3 separate regions of the Homo sapiens genome follow, and all the other regions are linked to region 1. Evidence: promoter capture Hi-C in 16 types of primary human blood cells and fetal thymus (Javierre and others, 2016). All regions are on one chromosome and are shown on one strand. Each heading gives the region's core, a stretch centred on a gene start or on the middle of the fragment in contact. The rest is flanking DNA. Distances are from core to core; before and after follow the strand shown. Region 1 holds the start of MBTD1 (mbt domain containing 1). Region 2 overlaps ANKRD40 (ankyrin repeat domain 40). Region 3 overlaps LUC7L3 (LUC7 like 3 pre-mRNA splicing factor).

Region 1 (4,031 bases), core at 655-3,154:
TTGAGTCTAACCTTTTAAATAGGAGACTGGGGCTTAAGGTGAAATTTATTTGCTGGCTTTTAAATCACATGCATTATTTCTACATTATACCTGTTATGTCTTGACACCCACTTCACCACATTAGAGAGTAATAGGTATATCCAAGATTCTTAGGCCAATAAAACTACTTTTAGAGGCAGCATAGCTCACCAAATGAAGGAGAATGTTAGAAAAACACCCAGTGACAATAGTTTCAACTATCTCAACCACCCAGTGATAAGTACTGGTGCATGCTAATATAAGGAGAATTAAAAATATTGTAAACTCTAAACAAGTATTAAAATGGTTCGTAAATTTCAAATCTCATAAAAGATAGTTACTTAAAAAAAAAAAAGAAGGAGTAAAAGCATTTGGAAGAGAGGCCCTTGGAGGAAAGACTAGCTTCCGAGGAACACAGGTCAAATACGGGTGTGGGCGGTAATCATCTAATCATCCCTCTACCAGGTGATGCTTCTAACCACTTCAGTTTTAGACATCCTTAGAAGTGATTTAGGTAATAAACAAATGTGTTTTGTGATACAAGAACCACGGAGATGACGCTGAAATTTCTAACTTCAAAAAGATGCACTCCTAAGAGAAAACAGGCACGAAATTCCCATATTGTAATTCTTTAGCTTCCTGTAGAAAAACATCTTCAGGCATGTAAGCCAGCACACTTGACACTGACCCAGCAAAGTTTTCGGCTAGCCCTCACTATCTCTCAACCCCCCTTCCTCCACTTCCCTGCTGTTCTTTCTTGGCACACAAAATATAGGCCAATGAGCAGTGGGTGGGTGAGGAGGATGTGAGAGAAAATTTGAGAAGTAAAAAAAGGAGCAACTTAACCAGGACATGAATGAGACTGAAGGGTCTAATAAGGGTAGGCAGACAACAATTAGAACTACTGAAATATGGGCTTTCCTGGGCAGTAGTGAGCTCTCAGTGCTTTTAGGGGTGTAAGCAGGGTTCAGACTACCTACCACTTGTCAGAGAGGCTGCAGAGGGGACGGCTGCTTTGGATGACCTCTAATGTCTCTTCCGACTCTGAAATGTTAGGATTCTTATTTCACAAAGGAGAACGCAATGGTCACAGAAGTCCACCGACTTGAAACCCTTTTAAATATGCAGCCTTGGAGGCTGCTTCCCAAACACCACTCCCACCTCTCCCGCACGTGCCCACCCCGCCCCCTTTCAATATTTCCACCTCCACGTGCAAACCGCCTCGCGGCACTGCCCCCAAGGCAGATAGACACCTTCCCCTGCAAAGCAACGAAACTGTGCTCCCCCTCCCCGCCAAGAAGAGAGGACTACTCCACTCTCCCACCCTGGGTGGCTAAAAAAGGAAAAGTCTCGGATCCAGCCTTTCCCCCCTAGCCAGAGCAGGGGGCGGGGGCAGGACGCAGAGAAAAACTTTCTTCTCGAATTTTTCTTCCAAAGGGTGGAGGAGATGGAGAGAACCCCAACGAGTCCAAGGCTGACGGGGTGGGGGGAGGGGAACCCCTGAATCGTTTAACGGCTGGAAGGGGGAGGGGGGCTCCGGAGGTTGAGAGGGCGTGGGATGGAGAAGCAGGCCAGGGAGCGGGGTCAGGGAGCTGCGGGGTTCCTGGGGTCGGAGAGCTGCAGGCGTCCCCCCCACCTGGCACACAAAGCGGCTGCCGCGCTCGGCTCTCACCAGATCCTTTGTGTTTTCCATCAGGGCCTCATGGGTAGGGGTTGTCCGTGCTCCCCGAGCCCGCGGCGCCCCCTCCCCGGGCTGGGGGCAGGTGCCTCTCCCCGGGACTGCGGCGACTACAGGGGGCCCCCGGCTGGGCCCAGACCGGTGGCGGGTGCAGCAGCCCCCGGATTTCCCCCCTTTAACTCGGGTGGCCCCAGGATATCAACAACATTAGCATAGCCCTCCCTCCCCAGCGCGCCTGCGCCGTGACCCGCGCCCCGATTGGCCCACTTCCCTACATACCCTCCTCTCTCGCTTCCACCGTGGGACCCTCTGCAGGCTCCGTACTCCAAGGACCGTACCAAGACGAAGGGTGGAAAGCGTATTGGGGCTTGTGTCAAGTCAAGTGGTTACAGCCAAGAGGAAAAGCAGAAGTTCCATTCAGCCGTCCCAGTGTATAGTCGGGGTTTCTTGCGCTCCTTTCAATATGTTGCAGCTGCGAAATTGTGTTGGAAAAATTTTCCACTCCAGTCACGCCGCTTCCCCCTACACCCGGAAGATTGGCCCTCCCGGAGGAACTCCCACACGGGGCGGGGCTGGGTAGGGGAGCGGGAGTTACGTAGAGGGAGGGAGTGCTGGTCACGTGGCAAGAGGCTGCGCAGGCTCCTTCCGGCCCCCGGGGCTTCGGCGGCGGCGGCCCGCGAGGGGCCTGGGCGCATGCGCAGCGAGGTTCCACGTGAGCGCCTGCGTTTCTCCTCAAACCTAACGATGCCGCCGGAGCGGAGGAGACGAATGAAACTGGACCGGAGAACCGGAGCGAAGCCGAAGCGGAAGCCCGGAATGAGGCCGGACTGGAAAGCCGGAGCGGGGCCAGGCGGGCCTCCCCAAAAGCCTGCCCCTTCATCCCAGCGGAAACCGCCGGCCCGGCCGAGCGCGGCGGCCGCTGCGATTGCAGTCGCGGCGGCGGAGGAAGAGAGACGGCTCCGGCAGCGGAACCGCCTGAGGCTGGAGGAGGACAAACCGGCCGTGGAGCGGTGCTTGGAGGAGCTGGTCTTCGGCGACGTCGAGAACGACGAGGACGCGTTGCTGCGGCGTCTGCGAGGCCCGAGGGTGAGGGAGGCCGCGGCGCGCGGGCTGGGCGCACTCGGGCGGGGCGCGCGGTGGGCGGTGAAGCTCCGGGGGGCGGAGCCTGGGCGACCTGCGGCGGCGGGGAGCGCTCAGGTGGGAGGGAGCCCGAGAACGCGGGCGCGGAGGGTCGCAGCTGCGGGTCCCTCGCCTCCCTGCTCCAGACTGAAAGTGCCTGGAGGGCGGGGACCGCGTCTTTCTCCGCCCCTGGAGGCGCCGCTGCTCGGGTATCTGCTTTGCGAACTGTGGTCGTGAGCATCTTTCGCTGCTGCTCGACTCCGCTAGCCTCTTCCCAAACTGAGGGTGGTCTTTTGATCACCTGCCTCAGTTCCTTGTGATTCAGGAATTCGATTTCGTTGATGGAATCAATTCGTGGGCACGGGCCTGGGCATCTCCGTTGTAACTATGTCCCCATGTGACTATGAGACCCACCATGTTTTGAGAATGATCGTGTATTCCGTTCATTTAGCAAATATTGGTGAACCTGTTAGTTGCCAGATACCCTTTCTGGCAATGGCAAACCCTGCGTGATTGATCATACTTTTTGCACACATTTTGCTATCCCTTTAAATTCTATACCAGGCTTTTCTTGAGAGAGTCCCGGACATTGTTCTAGGCACTGGAGGAGACACAGCAATGGACAAAACTGACAAAAATCCCTGCCTTTTGGCGCTTGTGTGCTAGTGGCAGAGACAAGATAGAGGAGATAAACGAGTAAACTTCAGGTTTGTTGGTGACAAGTGCTGAAGAGAAAAAAGGACATTCGGGAAAGGGAGATGGGCGTGTGTAGAGGCCTGTGAAATTTTAGATAAAGGGGGCAGAGGAAAGCTCACCGAGAATTACCCAGGCCATGTTTATTACACAAATGCTGACCTAGTTAATGTCAGCTGCTTACCAGAGCCGCCTTCGGGTGCTTGTAGGAGAAGTGGCAGCAATCTTTTTGGGAAGTACAGAACTATTACTGGAAACATGCTGAACTGTGCGACGGTTTTGTCGTCTGGAAAAGGAACAGTGTACGGAGGTGGGAGCTGTTGGGTTTGAAGGCTATTAGACTAGTAGTAGAGCAAGTAGAAACCACTTGGACATTTCTATCATTGGTTTTGGGAAGCTCAAACTCACTTCAAGGGATATTCTGTGGTCTAGGTTTAGATTTTTTTTTTTTTTTAGACTCGCCCTGTCGCCCAGGCTGGAGTGCAGTGGCGCCATCTCGGCTCACTGCAACCTCCACTTCCTG
Region 2 (4,031 bases), core at 981-3,480, 560 kb before region 1:
TTCTTGCCTGAATCCCAGTTGCTCACTTTCTTTTTCCTTCTTACTTTTCTTTCCTTAACACACACACAAAGGATTTCCAAATTTCCATTTTTAAAAAGTTGGCTTCTCTAGTTCTCTCCAGAAGGCTACAAACATATCCTCATCTGCGTAAATGTAAGGCACTGCACACATACTTTAATTCCTGAGGTACTTAAAAAATATACATCAACAACCAAAATTCTTCACGAACAGGTTCTTCTAACATATCAGACTCATTTAAGTAAAACTAATCACTCAATATTGTACACAGAGGAAGCAATTCTGCACACTCTGAAGGGCTACTATTTTAATACTGTACAGAAACATAATTAGCATGCCAGCAAAAACTCCATCTTAACAGAAATGAAAGATTCAGAGCAACTAAATCCATCCCTAGGTGCCAGAGCTGACTGTATATTATGGAAGGAAAATACTTTTCGCCTGTGTTTTGAAAGGTCTTCTTTCACCAACTCTCTAACTGAACTGAGATACATATCTTCAGAGCTCTTATAGCCAAATACAGAAATGAAGATTAGAACAAATGTTCAATATTGAAGGTTAGTTCACTAACCTGGGAAGTATAATTATTTGGAAAGTTTATATGATTCCAGGAAAAAGCTGATTTGCCCTGGGCTTAACATTAGTAACTTACAGAAAGTTAGCATGTCTGGCTGGCTGGGAGCAATTCCATTGATGTCTCAGAGTGACATTCTACATTATGGTTCATTAGAATTAGATTATCCAGGTTCCTTTAAGGTGTATTCCATGATGCAATGACAAAATTATTGCTAATTTGGGAAAAATAAGAGTCTCGTTAAGTTTGGGAGAGAAGAGTCTTGATCAAGCTCCCTGAAGGCAAGGAAGTGTTTGCTTGGCATGTATTAATTAATATTTACTGAATGGGCCAGGCACGGTGGCTCACACCTGTAATCCCAGCACTTAGGGAGGCCAAGGCAGGTGGATCACTTTAGGTCGGGAGTTTGAGACCAGCCTGCCCAATAGGGTGAAACCCCATCTCTACTAAAAATACAAAAATTAGTGTGATGGTGCATGTCTGTAATCCCAGCTACTGGGGAGGCTGAGGCAGGAGAATTGCTTGAACCCAGGAGGTGGAGGTTGCAGCGAGCCAAGATTGTGCCACTGCACTTCAGCCTGGGCAACACAGCAAGACTCCATCTCAAAAAAAAAAAAAGTACCAAATGAGTAAACTAAGGATAAAGTGGACCTTGCTTGAAGTAGAAGGATCCAATCTACCCTTGATTCTGGGCAAACTGGAACCTTGAGTGTGTTTGTGTGTGGATGTCTGTGGCACAGGCTTAAAAAGTGAACAATTATAATGATAAGTGAGCCCTCAAAAATGAATGAAGCATGATGAGAAAAATATGCTCCCTTTTGGAAATAAAATGCTCACTTGCTAGTAGTAGATCACTTGTTCGTGGCAAGCTTGAGAGTAAAGGAGGTAATTTACTACCAGTGGGTCTGAGAGACTCTGGGACAAACCAACTTGCTAAACTACCACCCATGTAAAGCAGGGTTAAGTCAACATAGCGTGGCCCCCACAGCCCTGTGCCTTAGTGATCATCATTTACCGTCCAGAGCTGTGCGGCTCTGGGCAGCCATAACTCAGAGCCCCTGCAGCCAGGTAATATTTTCAAGTTCTTCATGAACCAAGGGTTATGCATGACACTTGAATTACAACTGATGTGGGGGAATGATTAGTGATCAATCTAATTGATAGATTACTCTATCTTTGAACTTCAACTCCTTAAGCTTTACATTTGCAGTCAAAATATCTTATTAGTGTCAGAAACTATTTCAGACCTGAGGCACTGGGTGTCATTCATCAACAGGGCATCACTCATTGGTGCTGAAATTGTGATTACTGAGCAACTAAGACTTGAAAGCAGTCACCATTCTGCTTTGCAAATGCAAGAGAGTACGTTTTTTTGAGGGTAACCTTATATTCCATTATCTAGCATATTGCTTCATAATAAGAAAACAACAACAATGGCTAATACAGGTATAATGCTTTACGTGTTGGACATTGTTCTAAAGGCATTACATGTATTAACTTATTTAATCCTCTAAACCCATGAGGTAATACTACTGTCAACATTCCCCCCATTTTACAGAAGAGGAAACAGACATCAGCAAATAAATAAGCAAAGCACGCAGTACGCTAGGTGGTGATGAAGTATGACAGCAATAGTAAAGCAGGGAAAGGCATTAGGGAATGACAGAGGTTGGAAAGGGGCATTGTGCAACTTTAAATTGAGGGCCCAGGAAAAGCCTTGCCAAGAAGGTGACATCTAAACTAAAATCTGAAGGTGGTGAGGAAGCAAACCATGTGATATCTGGAGGGAAAGCATTTAAGAGAGTGGGAAGACAAAACGCAAAGATCTTGAATCAGGACTGTCTGGTATTCCAGAGAAAGCAAGGAGGCCAGGGGAAAAAGGTAAGCAGAAGGGCAAATCCCATGAGATTAGCACAGAGGTAAGGAGGGAAGATGTGGGGACAGGAAGTAGAAATTGTAGGACCCTGTAGGCTTTTACTGAGTGAGATAGGAGCCATTTTTGAGCAGAGTGAAATGATCTGACTTATGTTTTAAGTCAGGATCCCTCTGACCACTGTGTTAATTAAGAAGACTGTATGATATAAGCTTAGGAGCAAGGACACTAGTAGGAGGCTATTGTAATAATCCAAGCAAGAGAAACAATGGTGGCTTTGTATCAGAGGTGTAGTGGTAGGGTTAGTGAGAAGTAGTCAGATTCTGACTGTATCTGAAGGTGGAGCTCATAGAATTGGCTGACTGGATGTCGGCTATGAAAGACAGGAGGCAAGCAGGAGGCAAGCAGGGTGCCAAGGGTTCTGGCCTGAGCACTCCTGAGAGGCTGAGGACTCAGAGGAGCAGGCTTGAGGTGGTAGAGGGATGAGGGGAGACTTGGAATTCAATCTTGGACATGTTGAGTTTGAGGGGCCTATTAGACAGTTCCTCCAATTAAATCTACAAGAGGCCGGGCGCGGTGGCTCACGCCTATAATCCCAGCACTTTGGGAGGCCGAGGCGGGCAGATCACCTGAGGTCAGGAGTTCGAGACCAGCTTGGCTAACATGGTGAAACCCCATTTCTACTAAAAATACAAAAAACTAGCCAGGCGTGGTGGCACACACCTGTAATCCTAGTTACTTGGGAGGATGAGGCAGGAGAATCGCTTGAACCCAGGAGGTGGAGGATGCAGTGAGCTGAGATCACGCATTGCACTCCAGCCTGGGTGACAAGAGTGAAACTCCATCTCAAAAAAAAAAAAAAAAAAAAAAACCTATAAGAAGCCTCTTCAGGCTACCTCAGAATCACTTCACTAAACACCTCCTATGGGGCAGACATTGTGTTTAGGAGGGTAGGTCTGGCATCAGATACCAGGTTTGTTTTCTGGCTCCACTAGTTACTGTCAATCCTATGACCTTGGGAAGGGGCACTGTGAAAAGTGAGGAAACAACTTACGGTTTCTGGGCCTCAGTTTCTTCATCTGTAAATGGAGAGAACAGTAACTATGTCCCCAGGTAGTTGTGAACAAGCTAACACATGTAAAACACTTAGAACCCTATCTGAGCTGGCCGGGCACGGTGGCTCACGCCTGTAATCCCAGAACTTTGGGAGGCAGAGTCAGGCGGATCACAAGGTCAGGAGATCGAGACCATCCTGGCTAACACGGTGAAACCCCATCTCTACTAAAAATACAAAAAATTAGCCGGGCGTGGTGGCGGGCACCTGTAGTCCCAGCTACTCGGGAGGCTGAGGCAGGAGAATGGCGTGAACCCAGGAGGCAGAGCTTGAAGTGAGCCAAGATGGCACCTGGCACCACTGCACTCCAGCCTGGGCGAGAGTGCGAGACTCTGTCTCAAAAAAAAAAAAAAAAAAAAGAACCCTATCCTATCTGTGCTGCAAAGCAAGTTCAATAAATGTTAGCTATTTATGCTTCATCTCATTAAGGGCTCACAATACTCTTCTGGAAC
Region 3 (4,031 bases), core at 759-3,258, 540 kb before region 1:
AAGTGAGCAAGCAGCACTTGCGAAGCGCAGTTTCAAGTGAAGGATGCATCTGTGATGCAAAATCATCGACCATTTATTTGTAATGGTGTGTATGTAACCTTCACCAAGGTATTTTACTGGGGCTAGTGCTTTTACAGGCATTTCCAACTTTGTAGATTGCTACCTCTGGATCTGAGAAACTGCAGCTAAAGTGAAGTCGGCTTTAATACTGTTTCATGGATTCATTGGTACACCCTCCCACCGTGTTTATTTGTATTTTGCAATTGTTTGAGATTATTGTTTTGGTTTTTTGCACTAAGCAATTGCTTGGTTAATCCTAAACAACCACAGTGATGAGGAAAGCATGTGATTGTAACTAACTGCCTAGGGTGAGTACCTTTCAGTGAGGGTTTGATTTCAGTGTTAGCCAGAGAAGGCACTAGTAGCCATATTATTAGAAGATTGTAGTAAATTGTAAAGTCTGATCGGGAGTTTTGTTATTTTTTATGTAGCAAGACAGAAATTTTGTAGTTCAAATTGAGGTTTTTATATTCTAGATCTCAACCTGAAAATGAAATTACTTAATCATTAACACTGATTCTAATATCTGAAATGAGTTTTCTTCCATTTATCAAACTCAAGCCTACCCTTCCTTCCATGAAGGTTTAACATGAAGGTTTAATAATTTATGAAGGAAATTGAACTATGTTCTTTTCTAAAATCTTTGGAATGTTAGCAGATACTGTCATTGACACTGAAAAGTTGTTTAGAAAAGGAAAAATAGCTAAAGCTTCTGTCCACATTTTTTACTTGTATACTTTTTCTTTTTGCTTTAAAAATGTTCAGAATTTGGGAGCAAAAATTGAAAGCAAAAAACTAGTAATTATAATGCATGATGGCATCTATTAATATGTATTTTACTAGTTTTCATTCAGAGTCACCAAAATGTTCATAGTAACTTACTATGTTACTATGGAGTAAGATAGAAAAGCATTTTCTACCCTGCTCCCTGCCCCCCCCCCTTTTTTTTTTTGAGACAGAGTCTAGCTCTGTCACCCAGGCTGGAGTGTAGTGGCATGATCTTGGCTCACTGCAACCTCCACCTCCTGGCCTCAGCGTCCCGAGTAATTGGGATTGCAGGTGTGGGCCACCACGCCCGGCTAATTTTTGTATTTTTAGTCGACAGGGTTTTGCCATATTGGCCAGGCTGGTCTTGAACTCCTGACCTCAAGTGATCGGTCCGCCTCAGTCTCCCAAAGTGCTGAGGTTACAGGCGTGAGCCACTGCGCCCGGCTGGCATTTCCTACCTTACTCCATAGTAAAATAGTAAGTGTTGGCTTCTCAGAATTGCCAGCAGTCCATGTGTTATATGTGTATGTAATTGCTATTTGCTTTTCTTCCCAAAACATACAGAATTAGAGTGAATAGTATAATAAATTGAACTCCCCATGTACCCATGCCCAATTTAGCAATATTAGCACATAGTCAATATTATTTCCTCTGTATCCCTTCCATTATTTTGAAGCAATTCTGTTATTGTCAACCTTAAAGCGGTCATTGTATATCTGTAAAATACAAGGACTTTAAAAAAAAAACATAGCCGACCGGGCATGGTGGGTCACCTGTAATCTCAACATTGGGAGGCCAAGGCAGGCAGATCACTTGAGGCCAGGAGTTCGAGACCAGCCTGGCCAACATGGTGAAACCCTGTCTCTAATAAAAAATAAAAAAATTAGCTGGGCGTAGTGGTGCATTCCTGTAATCCCAGCTACTCTGGAGGTTGAGGCAGGAGGATCCTTTCAACCCAGGAGGCAGAGGTTGCAGTGAGCCGAGATGGTGCCACCACAGTCCAGCCTGGGCAACAGAGTGACACTCTGTCTCAAAAAAAAAATAGAATAAAATAACCACAATACCATAATCACTGAAAATTATAGTAAGGTATTTCGTAAATCTTTGGTTGCTTTAGGAAAATTGTGTGTGTGTGTGTGTGTGTGTGTGTGTGTGTGTCATTATATATGTTATTAGCCTTGATTTCCTCACAAAAGGAGAAGGTAGCTTAAGTTTGTAAATTTGACTTTTTTGCTAATACAGTTCTTCGTTTTATGAAATATTTTCTCTTTTTTTTTTTTTTTTTACCCCCGAGATGGAGTCTTGCTCTGTTGCCCAGGTTGGAGTGCAGTGGTGTGATCTCAGCTCACTGCAACCTCCACCTCCCGGGTTCAAGCGATTCTCCTGCCTCAGCCTCCAGAGTAGGTGGAATTACAGGTGCATGCCACCATGCCTGACTAATTTTTGTGTTGTTGTAGAGATGGGGTTTCACCATGTTTGCCGGGCTGGTCTTGAACTTTTGACAACAAGTGATCCTCCCTCGGCCTCCCAAAGTGCTGGGATTACAGGGGTGAGCCACCATGCCCAGCCTTTCTCTTCATTTCTTATAGTAAGTTAGGAAAATTGTTGTATTCATTTATCCAACAAAAATGTATTGCTCGGCTGGGAGCGGTGGCTCACGCCTGTAATCCTAGCACTTTGCGAGGCTGAGGCGGGTGGATCACCTGAGCTCAGGAGTTTGAGACCAGCCTGGCCAACATGGCGAAACCCTGTCTCTACTAAAAATACAAAAATTAGCCAGGTGTGGTGGCGCACGCCTGTAATCCCAGCTACTCGGGAGGCTGAGGAAGGAGAATCGCTTGAACCCGGGAGGTGGAGGTTGCAGTGAGCCGAGATCACGCCACTGCATTCCAGCCTGCGTGACAGGAGCAAGACTCCATTTCAAAAAAAAAATTAAAAGTATTGCTCTTAGGTAGATAACAGCAGGATAGTACAGATACAGCACTTGGTCCTAAAGAGCCATCATGTATTGGTGACAGTAAATGCACTTTTTTTTTCCAATGGGGATTATTCCAATTGAATGTAAACGCATTTCCATAACAGAATATGATAAATCCTACCATTGGGAAAAGTAAAATTGACCCTTGAACAACACGGGTTTGAGTTGAGTGTGTCCATTTATACGTGGAGTTTTTTCAATAAATATATTGGAACATTTTTTGGAGATTTGCAACAATTTGAAAAAACTTGAAGACGAATCACATAGCTTAGAAATATTTTTAAAATTTAAGAAAAGATAAGTACATCACAAATACATAAAATAGATGTATATACTAGTTTATCATTTTCCTACCACAAAATACATACGAATCATAAAAAGTTAAACTTTATAAAAACTTATGCACACAGTACATGGTGCCACTAGCAGTCCAGAGAAAGTAAAGCTTGAGTAATAACTGCATAAAATTAACTATAGTACATACTGTAATACTGTAATAATTTTGTAGCCACCTGTTGCTATTACAGTGAGCTCAAGTGTTGCCAGGCTCCACTTAAAATGCCCTATGACCTGTGACTCTTGATAATCTCTGCATGAGCAGTTGGTGTCTAAAGTAAATTGCATATCACAGTAAAAAATTATCCCTTGGTTCTTGTGTATTTTCATCATTGTTTATTGCAATACCGTATAAACTTGTTGTTTTGCTTTTTGTTGTTGTTGTTTTTGAGACAGTCTTGCTCTGTCGCCCAGGCTGGAGTGCAGTGGTGCCATCTCGGCTCACTGCAACCTCTGCTTCCCAGGTTCAAGCAGTTCTCATACCTCAGCCTCCCAGGTAGCTGGGATTACAGCCGTGTACCACCATGTCTGGCTAAGTTTTGTATTTTTAGTAGAGATGGGGTTTTGTCATGTTGGCCAGGCTGGGCTCGAACTCCTGGCCTTAAGTGATCCGCCCACCTTGGCCTCCCAAAGTGCTGGGATTAGAGGTGTAAGCCACAGCGCCTGGCCTATGTACAATACCATGACCTTTGAATAACGCCCTGAGACCCATACGAAGTGCAGCTAGTGACATTGGAAGTGCTCCGAAGAAGCAGAAAAGTCATGACAGTACAAGAAGTTAAATTGCTTGATATGTACGATAGACTGAGATCTGCACCTGGGGTTGCTGGCATTTGAGACAATTCATCTTTTGTATACAGATGACCTAAACTTAGGGTATTGATAAATA

What was found. The method cuts DNA at HindIII sites, captures the fragments that hold promoters and counts their contacts. A CHiCAGO score of 5 or more calls a contact.
Region 2: a fragment that was not itself captured here is called in contact with the fragment with the promoter of MBTD1 in region 1 in 1 of 17 cell types (neutrophils); the score reaches 5.9 in neutrophils.
Region 3: a contact is called between a fragment that was not itself captured here and the fragment with the promoter of MBTD1 in region 1, in 2 of 17 cell types (neutrophils and naive CD8 T cells). The highest score is 6.9, in neutrophils.

Annotation. Positions count from the first base shown.
Region 1 is chr17:51,258,145-51,262,175 of GRCh38, forward strand. It overlaps MBTD1 (mbt domain containing 1), which reads right to left and starts at 1,905. Exons shown (of 17, transcript NM_017643.3): 1 at 1,691-1,905; 2 at 999-1,062. UTP18 (UTP18 small subunit processome component) reads left to right here and starts at 2,402. Exons shown (of 14, transcript NM_016001.3): 1 at 2,402-2,782. The coding sequence starts at 2,441. RefSeq lists silencers at 1,643-1,962, 2,303-2,412, 2,763-2,952 and an enhancer at 3,423-3,472. The HindIII fragment of the contact is 12,089 bases long and covers 1-4,031 here.
Region 2 is chr17:50,701,203-50,705,233 of GRCh38, forward strand. All of the region lies in intron 1 of ANKRD40 (ankyrin repeat domain 40), which reads right to left. Among named protein-coding and RNA genes, the nearest start is that of ANKRD40, 4.7 kb to the right of the region's middle. The HindIII fragment of the contact is 889 bases long and covers 1,787-2,675 here.
Region 3 is chr17:50,722,661-50,726,691 of GRCh38, forward strand. All of the region lies in intron 1 of LUC7L3 (LUC7 like 3 pre-mRNA splicing factor), which reads left to right. Among named protein-coding and RNA genes, the nearest start is that of LUC7L3, 5.1 kb to the left of the region's middle. RefSeq lists an enhancer at 2,276-2,775. The HindIII fragment of the contact is 2,482 bases long and covers 768-3,249 here.